Regions from separate parts of the Homo sapiens genome. Here region 1 is linked to region 2. The links are contacts of gene promoters, found by promoter capture Hi-C in human tissues and cell types (Jung and others, 2019). All regions are on one chromosome and are shown on one strand. The core of a region is centred on a gene start or on the middle of the fragment in contact, and the rest is flanking DNA. Distances in the headings are between cores, read along the strand shown.

Region 1 (5,688 bases), core at 942-3,441, 1.4 Mb after region 2:
GAAAAATGTACAGTAATTTAGATAAATATTTTGGAAAATTAATGTAGAAAATGGGTGTAGTAATGTGTTTTCAGTTCTCATGACAACCTTGTGCATCTTTTGCATGAAAAAACTAAGGATTAGAGAGACTTGCTAAGTTATTCAATATCACACAATCGGTAATAAAATGGAACACAAATCCAGACTTACTTGACTTAATGGTTAAGCTGTATTACCTCACACAATATAAATAAAATCTATAGTGATAAAAACATTGAATAATTGAACCACCAACCATTTTTCCTATTGAATCCTCAGGACATCTGATATTAGCAAACATATCCAGTTTATTTTTAGAATTTCTTACTCTTCATTGTGTGAAAAACCTTGGCTATTATGTTACCCTGCAAGCTGCCCACAAGAGAAAGTAGAAGAGACATTAAGATCTAAGAATTAATGTGTATAACTTCTGAGATTAAATGGGATTAAAAGGAGGATTCAAGAAAGAGAAATGAAGGAAAGAAAATATGACCAACATTCATAGGAGGAATAACAATATTGCTAGTTAAGATATATGAACAGTCATTACAGTTTTGTTTCATTGAGAAAATGGTTAAAAGGAATTGAATCTGACTAAGCATGAATGGCAACACTCTAGATGGAACACCTGTCTGTACCACAGGAGGTGGAATTGGAGTAAAGAAGGCACAATTACATCATCAGGCTGCTTACCTCTTCATAAATTTTAAGCTCAGCTAATTTAAATGAAGCATATACTTCTTCTGTAGGTGAATTGAGTTATGTAACACCAACTATAAAATGATAAGTATAGAGAATGCTATGTTACTTTCTTTGAGAGCTTAGAAAATTTTGGTTTATACAAGTAGTACTTATACTCAAGTTTTGACATGAATGGAAGCCTGGTATACCCACTATCTGTCAGCACCCACATTGTTTTTGTATCTCTCTTACACACACACATAAATTTAAAATAAAAATTTAAGACAAAAAAAAAAAAAAAAAAACTAAGACAAAAAACTTCTTGAGGTTTTGGAAAACCAAAACCTCAAGAAGATAAAGTGACTTACTCTTGTTTTAGTTTTCAGCTGGTAGAGTCAGTGTTTGAAATCTGATTTTTAATAGAAAAAAAAAAACTTTTTACCCTGTGTTACTTGCTTTTTACTAACAAAATTTTATTTTTAAACGATTATATATGACAAGACTTTAGCATAGTATTGGACACAAAGTAGGTATAAAATATGTGGGTTTTTTCCCTTTAATTTCTAAATCAGATATAAAAATATGAATGAAACTGGACTTTCTATCTTGAGGTCAGAGAAATAAAAAGACCTATGGACAGAATACTCAGTGCTGGAAGGTTGCCCAGGGAGGTTTAGGGCCAAGGGCCAAATCTAGTGTATGTGCTACTCATGTCCTGTACCAACTATGAAAATTCTCCCATAGATAAAACCAGCAATGCTGCTTCCTCAAGAGTAACAATTCACCACTGTTATATAAAAATATTATTGTGTTCTCAGATAAATCAAACAAAACAAGAACACACATTAGGGTAAACATTTATGCATGTTTTATTATTTCAAGACTTCTTAGAGAGTTCAATATATATTAGGAATCTCCAAAGGTAGGAAAGGAAAAAGGCAGGTATTACCCCAAATATTTTGAACAAGAAATATATCTCTCATAGAGCATGTTGTGGGATAAGAGTTCTAAAGAATAGATATAGGGAAAATTTATTATATTCATTTTTTGCTTCAGGTTGACACAGAGAAATGTGGTCACTTTCCCTTCAAGAAATAACTTTATACCACATATTTAAAGATTGGGCAGGATTTTGCAAAAAATCACAATGCTGGACCACTTGCCTGTATGCAAGTAGGTTGAAGACCCATCACCTCATGATTTTTGATTAAGGCAGAAAACTTGGCCAAAGGGGTTCAAATTGACAGCAAAAGCACAACAAGATTGACTGGATAATTCAGCATCTATCTGCTGACATAAGCATCCTTAAATTACATTTCTCCCTTCTTATAACCTGGGGTCAAGGCTGGTCCCTGGGTCTTTATTAAGCTCCCTATAGGTGAGGATTAGGTAGGTCCAGCAGCCAGAGACAGAGGAACACAGAGGCTGAAGTGGGCAAGGCTATTAGACTTCCAAAAATAATAAGGAACCATTAATCCACCCTTTTATATGTAGGAAGACTGATGACAAAATACATTGAACAAAGTTGGTAGAAAGAGGGTAGTGATCAATTAGAGTAGCATTTTCTTGATTGTCAGGGTTACATGGTGTTACTTAATTATTTTCCTAGAAGTATTATAATCATATACTACCAGACCTATTTTAAAAGTCTCTGGAAACCAGTCTCAAAGAAGGACCAGCAATTAGCAGAAATTGACATGTGGATCGGCATTACAAATAAGTGGAACAAGATACAAGGGAAGCTTTGTACTGGGAAAAGCACATTGAATTTGTAATCAAAACTCAAGTGCTGGAATGACCACTAAGTGTGGGACTTTGGACATTTTTTCCCCTTTGTGCACTAAGATGGTTGAACTAAATAATATAAAAGGATCGTTTTATCTTTACTTTTAAACATTCTACATTATTTGATTTGTGGTACAGGTGCAAAAAAGATCTTTCTGCAAGAAAAAAAAAAAAGAAACTTCTTACAAGTTGCCTGATTAGACAGCCATTCTTAGATTGCACATTGTATCCTCAGTATTCTCTGCTCAAATGCCAATATTCTCAGGAGAGTAATACATGTCTCAATTAATCAAGGGTTACATAGTAATATCGAACCAAAAATTTGTTTATCAGATCATTTTGCAGTTGCAGAAATTGTCCAGAGAACACTACTGCATGGAAGAGCATGGGAAAGGTTGAGAGGAAGAGGTGATGTTCAAGGAAGACTAGCCTGGATAAGGCACCACAAGGAGACCTGGTAATTAGCTGGCTATCTTAGGAGACCAAGTGTCTGGAGGGCAAAGATGTAGGGATGATAATACAACTATGTAAAATTAAGCGTATCAATTTTCATTTATCATATTATTCAATTAAGGACTATAGTTATCCAGAAAAAAATTCTTTCATGACCTGAGAAGTCTCTAGTCTAATTATACGGCTGTTTTAAATATCTGGTAAAATATTTTGGAAAAACTCAGATAATTTGGTAATGCTACTATTTTATTTTAGAGCTTAGCAAACTCCACACTTCTATCCCTTAGCAAAAACAGTTTTAGAGCAAAAAGCATATCTCTTTTACTAAAAAGACCCTGATAATATTAGTTGAAAGACTTTTAGAGTAAATGTTTAAAGTACATACAAGGCAAAATATGAAATATGGTATTCTGGAAAGAATATAGGATTTAGATTTTACCAAACAATCTAGATTTAGATTTTGCCAAATCCACCAGATTTGAACACTGGCTCTTATATTTTATAAACTGTATAGTATTGACAAGGCCCTTTACCTCTCAAAGCCTCTGAATGTTGTGGGACTGAATGACTTAATACATTGTGTCTGTCTGTAGCTGCTCAATAAATCTGAGTTACTTAGTTCGTAGTTAAAACTACCATTTATTGTCTAATTCAGTAATCTATTTTCCTTCCTGTATTATGGAACATTTTATTTTTTAATATAAGAATAATTTTCAATTTAAAAGGATTAAGGAAAAGCCATGGGATAAGGAAACTAAAAATAATAGACAGGCGATATCCAGCCATTATATAGTTGGATACCAAGTTCTGATTTAATATGCCTCTACCCTCCCCTCTGGGGTACCTTGTAGTTAGAGGATTATGCCATGAGTCAGTTTGTCTGCTGATAAAATATTTTCTCCTCTGAGCAAATTTGCCACCATAATGAATAATTATTCTCTTCCATTAAAAAGATTTTACATCTACACAATTGAAGTTAGAAAATAATCCTCATTTTCTATCATACTAATCAACGTTTTCTGTCACCAAGACGTTCAGCTTAAGTATCTAAGGAATATCTCTTTCTGAGATAAATAGTAATATCCCAAGTAAGTAACAAATAATATCATAGATTTAAAAAATAAAGAAGGAAGAACTGTATTTGCTGAGGCGTATTCTATTCAAAAATACTCTAATATCTTTACCTGAGATCACTCCATCACATTTTGTATCACATTTCCTTACTTTAATGGAAAAATATGTTCATCATAAACTCCCATTGCTAATAAAGCAATCAGACTTCAACTTAAGAAAACACAAATACGTCTTACTTGACAGTTGAATTCAATGACTTCCCTGGATTGCTGGATTCGGTAGATTTAAAGGAAGAAAATGGGACCCAAAAATCAGAAACAAATACTTGTTTTCACAGAGTTCTTTAACAGAAAGTTAAAAAAAATAGTGCCTAAGAAATGAATGAGTTACTGTTTCAAGTAGGCAATATTTCAGTATCTTTATTATAAAATAATTATCTTACATAATCGTGGGTTAATGGAGGTAGATACCACATTTTATCAAATAAGAGTAGGATGGGAAATTCTATATGGAGAATCTGAAAAGATACTAAAGTTATTATGTATTGCTGTGAAAAAATTACCTGAAAACCAGCAGCTACAAATTCTGTGAGTCAAGAATCCAGGTGTGGCTTAGATGAGTGTTTTCTGCTTTGAGTTTCTTACAAGGCTTTGATCATGGTGTTACCTGTGGCTGGAAGTCATCTTAATTCTCAACTGGAGGGGAATCCACTTTGAAGTTCACTCAGATGGTTGTTCGCAGGTCTCAAGTACTCACTAGCTGATGCCTGGGGGTTTCAGCTCTTTGCCATCAGGCCTTCTTCATAGGGCTACTTGCATCATGGTAGTTGGCTTCCCCCAGAAAGTGAATTTGAAGAGAAAAAACCCAACACGGAAGCACAATCTATTGCAGGACATGTTCATTGAATTGACATCCAGTCAACTCTGCTGTGTCCAATTCACTAGAAGTAAGTCACCAAATCCTGCCACCTCAAGGCAAATGATTACACAAAGGTGTGAATCAAAGGAAGGAGGGATCACTGGGAGCCATCTTAGAGTGTGCCAGTTAGGACACTCAGTGCTTACATGTACGTTTCCCTTTCCCCTTAAACATCTGAAAGCAGCCAACTTTCTTCTCTAGTGTTTGGGCATAATCAGTGGGTAAAAACCACTGGGTTCCAAGGGTAGAAGATAGGTAACTCTCACATTGTGGTTGAATTTCAAACCTCAGAGCATACTGAACAGGGCATATCCATGTCATCTCAGAATGCGTTAATTTCTTAATATACGATAGCAATATGAATGTGTTTATCTCATTTTTCCAGGTATTTATGAGACTTTGTATTTTCTATCCCCTGCCCTCCTTGTTTTCCTTCCATCATAGCTTAATCTTGATTCTTTGCTCATTGAACTTCATTGGAGGTCATTTAACATAAATCATTACTACCTTGGTAAATTAAGCAGATGGAAAGCCTTACAAAAGGTCTTCTTGTTTTCTGTTAGATATAGCATTTAATAAAGGAATTGGGGGGAAGATTTATTTTTGGCTGATTTTTTCAACCTAGCTAAATATAGCCATCACGATTTTTGTTTTTGTTTTTTAGTCTGAGGTGACTAAAATCTTCTACAGATTGAATTTTTCTACCCACAATCTAGGTACACATACTTTAGAAATAAATTTAGCCACAGTAGAACTTAT
Region 2 (5,957 bases), core at 1-2,500:
TTATGGGAGCATTTGCCTTATAGTTATGCCTATTCAAGTTGACACATTACAAAGGTACCACTGTTGACAAAAACATTTTAGGATCTATAATCTTAGTAGAGTGTCTCTAAGTAGCTAGTCACAATATCTCCTAGGAATCCTTTCTGGAACTTGGGTAGACCAGTATCTCAATTTTAATGATCACACGATAATTGGAGATGCTGAAAGAACCTGGGTGCCCAGTAGGAAAGTAGCCTAGATGATGATAGTCCCAAAGAAGATGGACTAGAAAAAAATAAAATGACACGTGGCAGACTACTGGTTGTTCTACAATATCCATTCTCCTGGATACTGGCCCAAACCATCCTCCTATCTCAGCCTCCCAAGTAGCTGGAACTACAGGCGTGTGTGCCACCCCGCCTGGCCGATGCGCGGTGGCTCACGCCTGTAATCCCAGGACTTTGGGAGGCCAACGCAGGCGGATCAATGGAGGTCGGGAGTTCGAGACCAGTCTGACCAACATGGGGAAACTGTCTCTACTAAAAATACAAAAATTAGCTAGGCGTCGTGACGCATGCCTGTAATCCCAGTTACTCAGGAGGCTAAGGCAGGAGAATAGCTTGAACCCAGGAGGCGGAGGTTGCAGTGAGCCGAGATTGTACCATTGCATTCCAGCCCAGGCAACAGTGTGAGACTCCGTCTCAAAAACAAAACAACAACAAAAAATAATAAAATAAAAGAAAGAATAAATAATCTCTACTGGGTTAGGAAATGGCCTTATGGAGAAGATGGCATTTGAGTAAGCTACTTAGGGTTTTTTGCTCTGTAAGTCGGTGTCAACGTCCCGTTTTCACGTGGTGGCCTGATCATTTTGTCTTATAGTGATGTCTTTGCGTGCATGTGCGCTCATCTCCTATATTGGACAGGGTCTAGAGCAGTTCCTGGCACAGAGTAATCACTCAATATTACATCACTATACTAAAAAATCATGATAGTAATTCTTGACGGGATAAATGAAGGCATGAATAAATGTATGAATTAACGAGTGGCAGTGAGCTCTTCAGGGGTGGTGGGTCTTGTCTCACTCGTCTTTGAGCTGCGGCCTCGCTGAGGGCATAGTGCGCACAACTGGCTGGTGTTCCAGATTCCACTGGCAGGGACCAGGATCGCAGCCCGAGCGCCGGGGCGGGAGGGATGACTCCGGACGGTAGGGGGCACCGGCGTGCGGCCCGGCCGAGCCCCCAGGTAGCTCCGCGCGCACAGCAGGACCGTCATTGACGCCATGAGCGCGCTGCTGCGGCTGCTGCGCACGGGTGCCCCAGCCGCTGCGTGCCTGCGGTTGGGGACCAGTGCAGGGACCGGGTCGCGCCGTGCTATGGCCCTGTACCACACTGAGGAGCGCGGCCAGCCCTGCTCGCAGAATTACCGCCTCTTCTTTAGTAAGTAGCTCCCGGAGGTTCGCCGAGCGGCGCACCGGAGAAACCTGGGTGGGGGATGGAATGGGGGACACTTGGGACGCCCCGCGCGGTCTCCCTTCTCTCTTTTTGGGGCCCTCAGCGGTAGCCGCGCGGTCCAGGCCACCTTACTTCCCGCGGGAGCGCGCACCGAGTCACGAGAACTGCCAGCGAGGAGGCGGCGGATCAAGACCCCAAAGCGGAGAGCAGAGGCGCAGGGCTGCCGGCTGGGGGGTAGATAGCGCCCTGTGCCCTGCCAGCCGCCCTCCCCGAGGGGTAGGCAGAGTGCAAGCGGCCACCCCGCGGCGGCCTGCAGCCATTAGCCGGCCCGGCCGCCGTTCCCGGTTCACACAACTCAGTGAGGAAGGGAAGGCAGAGCCCGCCCACACGCCGGCCTTCCTAGAGGCGTAAGAAACCTCCTACTGCGGGAGCTCCCTGACGTCGGAGAGGCAGGCGGAACTTTGCGGATGCCTAATCCAGCGCGTCTTCTTTTTTTGGAGGGACTCTGATGAAGGTTCTTTCCCCAGAAGCTTGACTTGGTACGCACAAGTTTACACCCTGAGTGTGATCCACCATCCAAAGCCTCGTTGGTTCCGGAGCAGCCCCTTTTCCTCCCCAAGCTGAACAAGCCCAGAAGGCTAAGCGACTTCGGGGGGGTCCCTGAGTTGCCGAGCTCAGAGAAAGGACCCAGGTCTTCGTGACTCATTGTTCCGTGTACCCCATTGTTTCACTGTGTACGTTAACCGTAACAGAAAATAGCGATGTCGGTCGCTTGCCTTCACTCCCCACTGACTGCAGAGCCTTGGAGTGGTAGTATCAAAGTGGGCCTTGCATTATCGCTCCCCTTTTCGGAGCACTGGCTCTGGAGGCTTTCAGTTCTAAGCAGGCCCTCGAGTTCTTCACGTCTTAACTCTGTGACCCCGGACGAGTTTAAGTTGCTAAGCCTTGTTTTTTCTCATCCGTAAAATAGGGCTGCAAGTATTACATGACATTATATATGTAAACTGATTAGTCACAGGGCCTAAAATATAAATTACTATTGTTAATACCGATAATCATTATAGATATTTGTAATTTATGAGAGATTTGCAGTTATGCTACATGAGTTTAGGGTCGAGGATTATTTTGTGGGAAAGAAGAGTTTGCCTAAAGTCGTGTGATTATAATGCAACTAGTACTAGAATTTCTATTTTCTTCAAAATTGGTTGCAGTTTTCACCCTATGCCACATATTTTCTTCTATCTTTGGTTAAGACTGATCAGGTGAACAGGAAGTCTCAAATTTCTGAATGGATTATGTTCTAAAAGGTTACCATGTGATGATTAATGGGAATAGTCAGAAAAAATTATGAAGTGGCAGTTCGCTTTTTAAGCAGATTGAAAAAAGGCCTGTCTACTGCAAGTATTCTAGATTTGCAATAAGTACGGTAATTAATAGATACCCAAATAATAAATATTTATGAAGTGTGCTAGACACTGTTAGGCATAGTACAGAGATTCACAATATTACTATAATTATGGAAAAAGTAAATACACTGGTTGAGCAAAAACAGGCTTGAGAAGCCAGGAGCGCACAGAGTAGTTGACCCAGTACCGGATTTGGAATGGGGAGTCCTAGGCCATAATCTTGGCTCTGCCGTTAACTCGCTGTGTGCTGTTGGGTGGGTGGTTACTTCAGTTCTTTCTCACAGAGCCAGTTTCTTCAGCTGTAAAATGAAGCTTTTGACCTTGAAACGATGATCCTCAAGGTCCTTCTCAGCACTGGTATTCCCTGAAGGCATTGGATGAATAACGGAGATTCTAACAGTCTCTGTTAAGACAGGATGTCGAATGGGGGCATTTTTGGGAGTATGTTGGCCTCTTATTGTTGGTTTGTTTCTTTAGCTGCAAATGTACTTAGGACTCATGATTTTTCTGTAACTAGAGTGCCACAAATAAAATACGTTTTTCATTCAGTTGGATAAACAGGGCAGGAAAGAAGAAAACCCGATTTTACTAAGGTAAATGGGCAAAAACTGGAAGAAAGGGGAGTGTGGTTTTGGAGAGGGTCCCGATGGTAAGATCCTGATTGGAAGGTGTGTTGGTTAAACAATTTCTGAACTAACCGCCAGATGGCATCACTGGCCAGGACTGTTTACTACCTGCTAGAAGGGGTAGGGCAAAGTGAAACGAAGCCACTCTAGGGCGAATGGGGTAAGGGGAAAGCAACGAATAAATTGCCCTTTATAAAGATGATCACAGATTGGATATTTATTACTCAGTGTGTCTGTATGCAGTACTAGGGTGGACTAATGTCTCACTTCAAAAAAAATATGAGTGTAGTATACTTGGCCTAAAATTGTTACTCAGTGTTACTAAAGTGTAATCATTTTCCACATCTCCAAATATATTCCAAGTCTCTGAAATACTAGTGCATTGGGAGGTAGAACATTTTCGAGCTTCATGTCTGTAAATGGTTTCTCTTTACTGTCATTCAGTAAAATCAGAATAAATGATTGATGTAATACTTAAAAAAAAATTGGTGTTAAACTTTGTAGAAAGAGTGAGACAGGATGATTAGGGGAAAGGGTATCCTGATGGGAATCATCAGGCCTCCTTGGTGCCAGCCCTGACCCTGTTAGTATCTTGCTGTCACTTCACCTCCCTGCATCTCATTTTTTAAAACCATGGAATGAGGAGATTGGACCAGATGATCATTTTCCAGACTGCTTAGTTGAACACAAGCATCCCATGGTATATTATTAGGTTTTCGTTAAAACAGAGGGTTTCATGGTTTAATAAATTAGAACACTTCCCATTTTATTACTTTTTTGAAGAAGAATTTGCCTATTTAAGTTCTGGAAAATTCGGATGTAACTTCTCCAAAAACTGAACCACAGAGTACTTATTTCTCAGAACATTTGTTAACATCTTAGTGACATCAGGGTTATGATTTCTGCAACTTCCAGAAGCAACTGTGCTGTAACAGTTCTAAACTAATAGTCAAACCACTTAAGTTGTAGTCCTGACTTTACCGTCTTGGACAAGTCACTCGACTGAATTAACCAGAGGCATCCCTTACCTTCAGATGACATCCGGTAGCTCAGTTTCTCCGTAAATAAAATGGGGATAGCACTAGTAATTTTATAGAATTGCTGTGGCAGTTAAATGAGACTATGTGTGTAATTATCAGTGTCTCACACGTGATAGGTATTTAATAAATGTTATTTATTTTTCCCTTTTGACTTTAAGACATTAGACTAAAATCCTTATTATTAGATTCTGTGAAGGGAGAAAATAAGGTGATGTGATTGATTATTTTGAAGTGTTCCTGTTAATTTATAGGTTTCAGAAGGTTTTTTGTTGTTGTTGTTTATTCATTTTATTTTTATTTTTTTGGTTTGTTTGTTTGTTTAGAGATGGGGTCTCATACTTTTGCCCAAGCTGGAGCACAGTGTGCAATCACGACTCACAGCAGCCTTGACTTCCCCAGCTCAAGCGATCCTCTCACCTCTGTCTCCTGGGTAGCTGGGACTACAGGCATGCACCACTGTGCCCGGCTTCCTAGGTCTTAAAGTTTTAATGGGTACTTGCAGTCTTTTAAATTAACTGTGAAATCATAATGAAGTTAGACTCACTTATATTGAGCCAAAGACCTAATGCTGCATGCCAGTATTCCTTTGATATCTTGCGTGTTTTTGTTTGTTTTGTTTCGTTAATAACTTGAAATTTTATTTTAGATTTCATACTGTTCTCATAGGATAGGGAAAAGCTATGCTTTCCATAATTAGGAATTTTGTTATTATGGGATAGGCAACTGGTTTACTTAGAGAAATAGTGCTGTGGATAATTCAAGTTGCTTTTATTTAGTCTGGGAATGAACCAAGCAGTTCTTTAAAATTAATTTGCTTTGTCACTTATAGTAAGCATGTGCTTGTGTTGAAATTACTGTAGGTTTTCTTTATGTCATTTGGGTAGTAGGAGGAATCTGCCATTGAAAGTGCTGTATCTTTGGACTTAAAAGAGAACTTCCCGTGAATAATCCACAAAATTTGTTTGAGTCTTAAATATGAGTTTCTGTAACTTTTTAAAGTTGGCCTATATCATAGAACTTCAACTGATATAATGGAACACAATGGGTTTTGTGTGAATATAGAAAAAGTATTTTATTTGATTTTTCAGTCCTTAAAACCTTAAACGTTTTCTATATCAGTGCTGTGAAATAGGAATTGTGTGATCTATATGGAACAGAGGAAGCATTTTTATTGAAGTTTTTAGGCTCCTTTACATTTCTTAATCTTTTTATCAGAAAATAAAACAAAGTTAGCTTTAGTCATTGCTGAAGCTTCCAGTAAGAATCTCTATAAGTGGTTTTGTAGTCGTGTGTAATCATATGTTGGTATATGGCATACATTTAGCTGTCTGGTATAGATACATAAAATTAGGTATGGTTTTCACATTCCATTCAATTTTCTCACTTGCTCTAGTGTAAGTAATAAACTTTCATCCTGATACAACTTGCTCTTGTGAGAGAAAGAATCACATA

What was found. The method cuts DNA at HindIII sites, captures the fragments that hold promoters and counts their contacts. A contact is called where the count stands out against the background at its distance.
Region 1: a fragment that was not itself captured here is called in contact with the fragment with the promoter of PPA2 in region 2 in 1 of the 25 tissues and cell types used here (dorsolateral prefrontal cortex).

The regions. Positions count from the first base shown.
Region 1 is chr4:104,050,458-104,056,145 of GRCh38, reverse strand. No RefSeq gene overlaps it. Among named protein-coding and RNA genes, the nearest start is that of LINC02503, 92 kb to the right of the region's middle. The HindIII fragment of the contact is 9,123 bases long and covers 1-5,688 here.
Region 2 is chr4:105,469,355-105,475,311 of GRCh38, reverse strand. It overlaps PPA2 (inorganic pyrophosphatase 2), which reads left to right and starts at 1,250. Exons shown (of 12, transcript NM_176869.3): 1 at 1,250-1,418. The coding sequence starts at 1,262. RefSeq lists a silencer at 1,060-1,269 and enhancers at 1,490-1,609, 1,900-2,069. The HindIII fragment of the contact is 4,779 bases long and covers 1-2,557 here.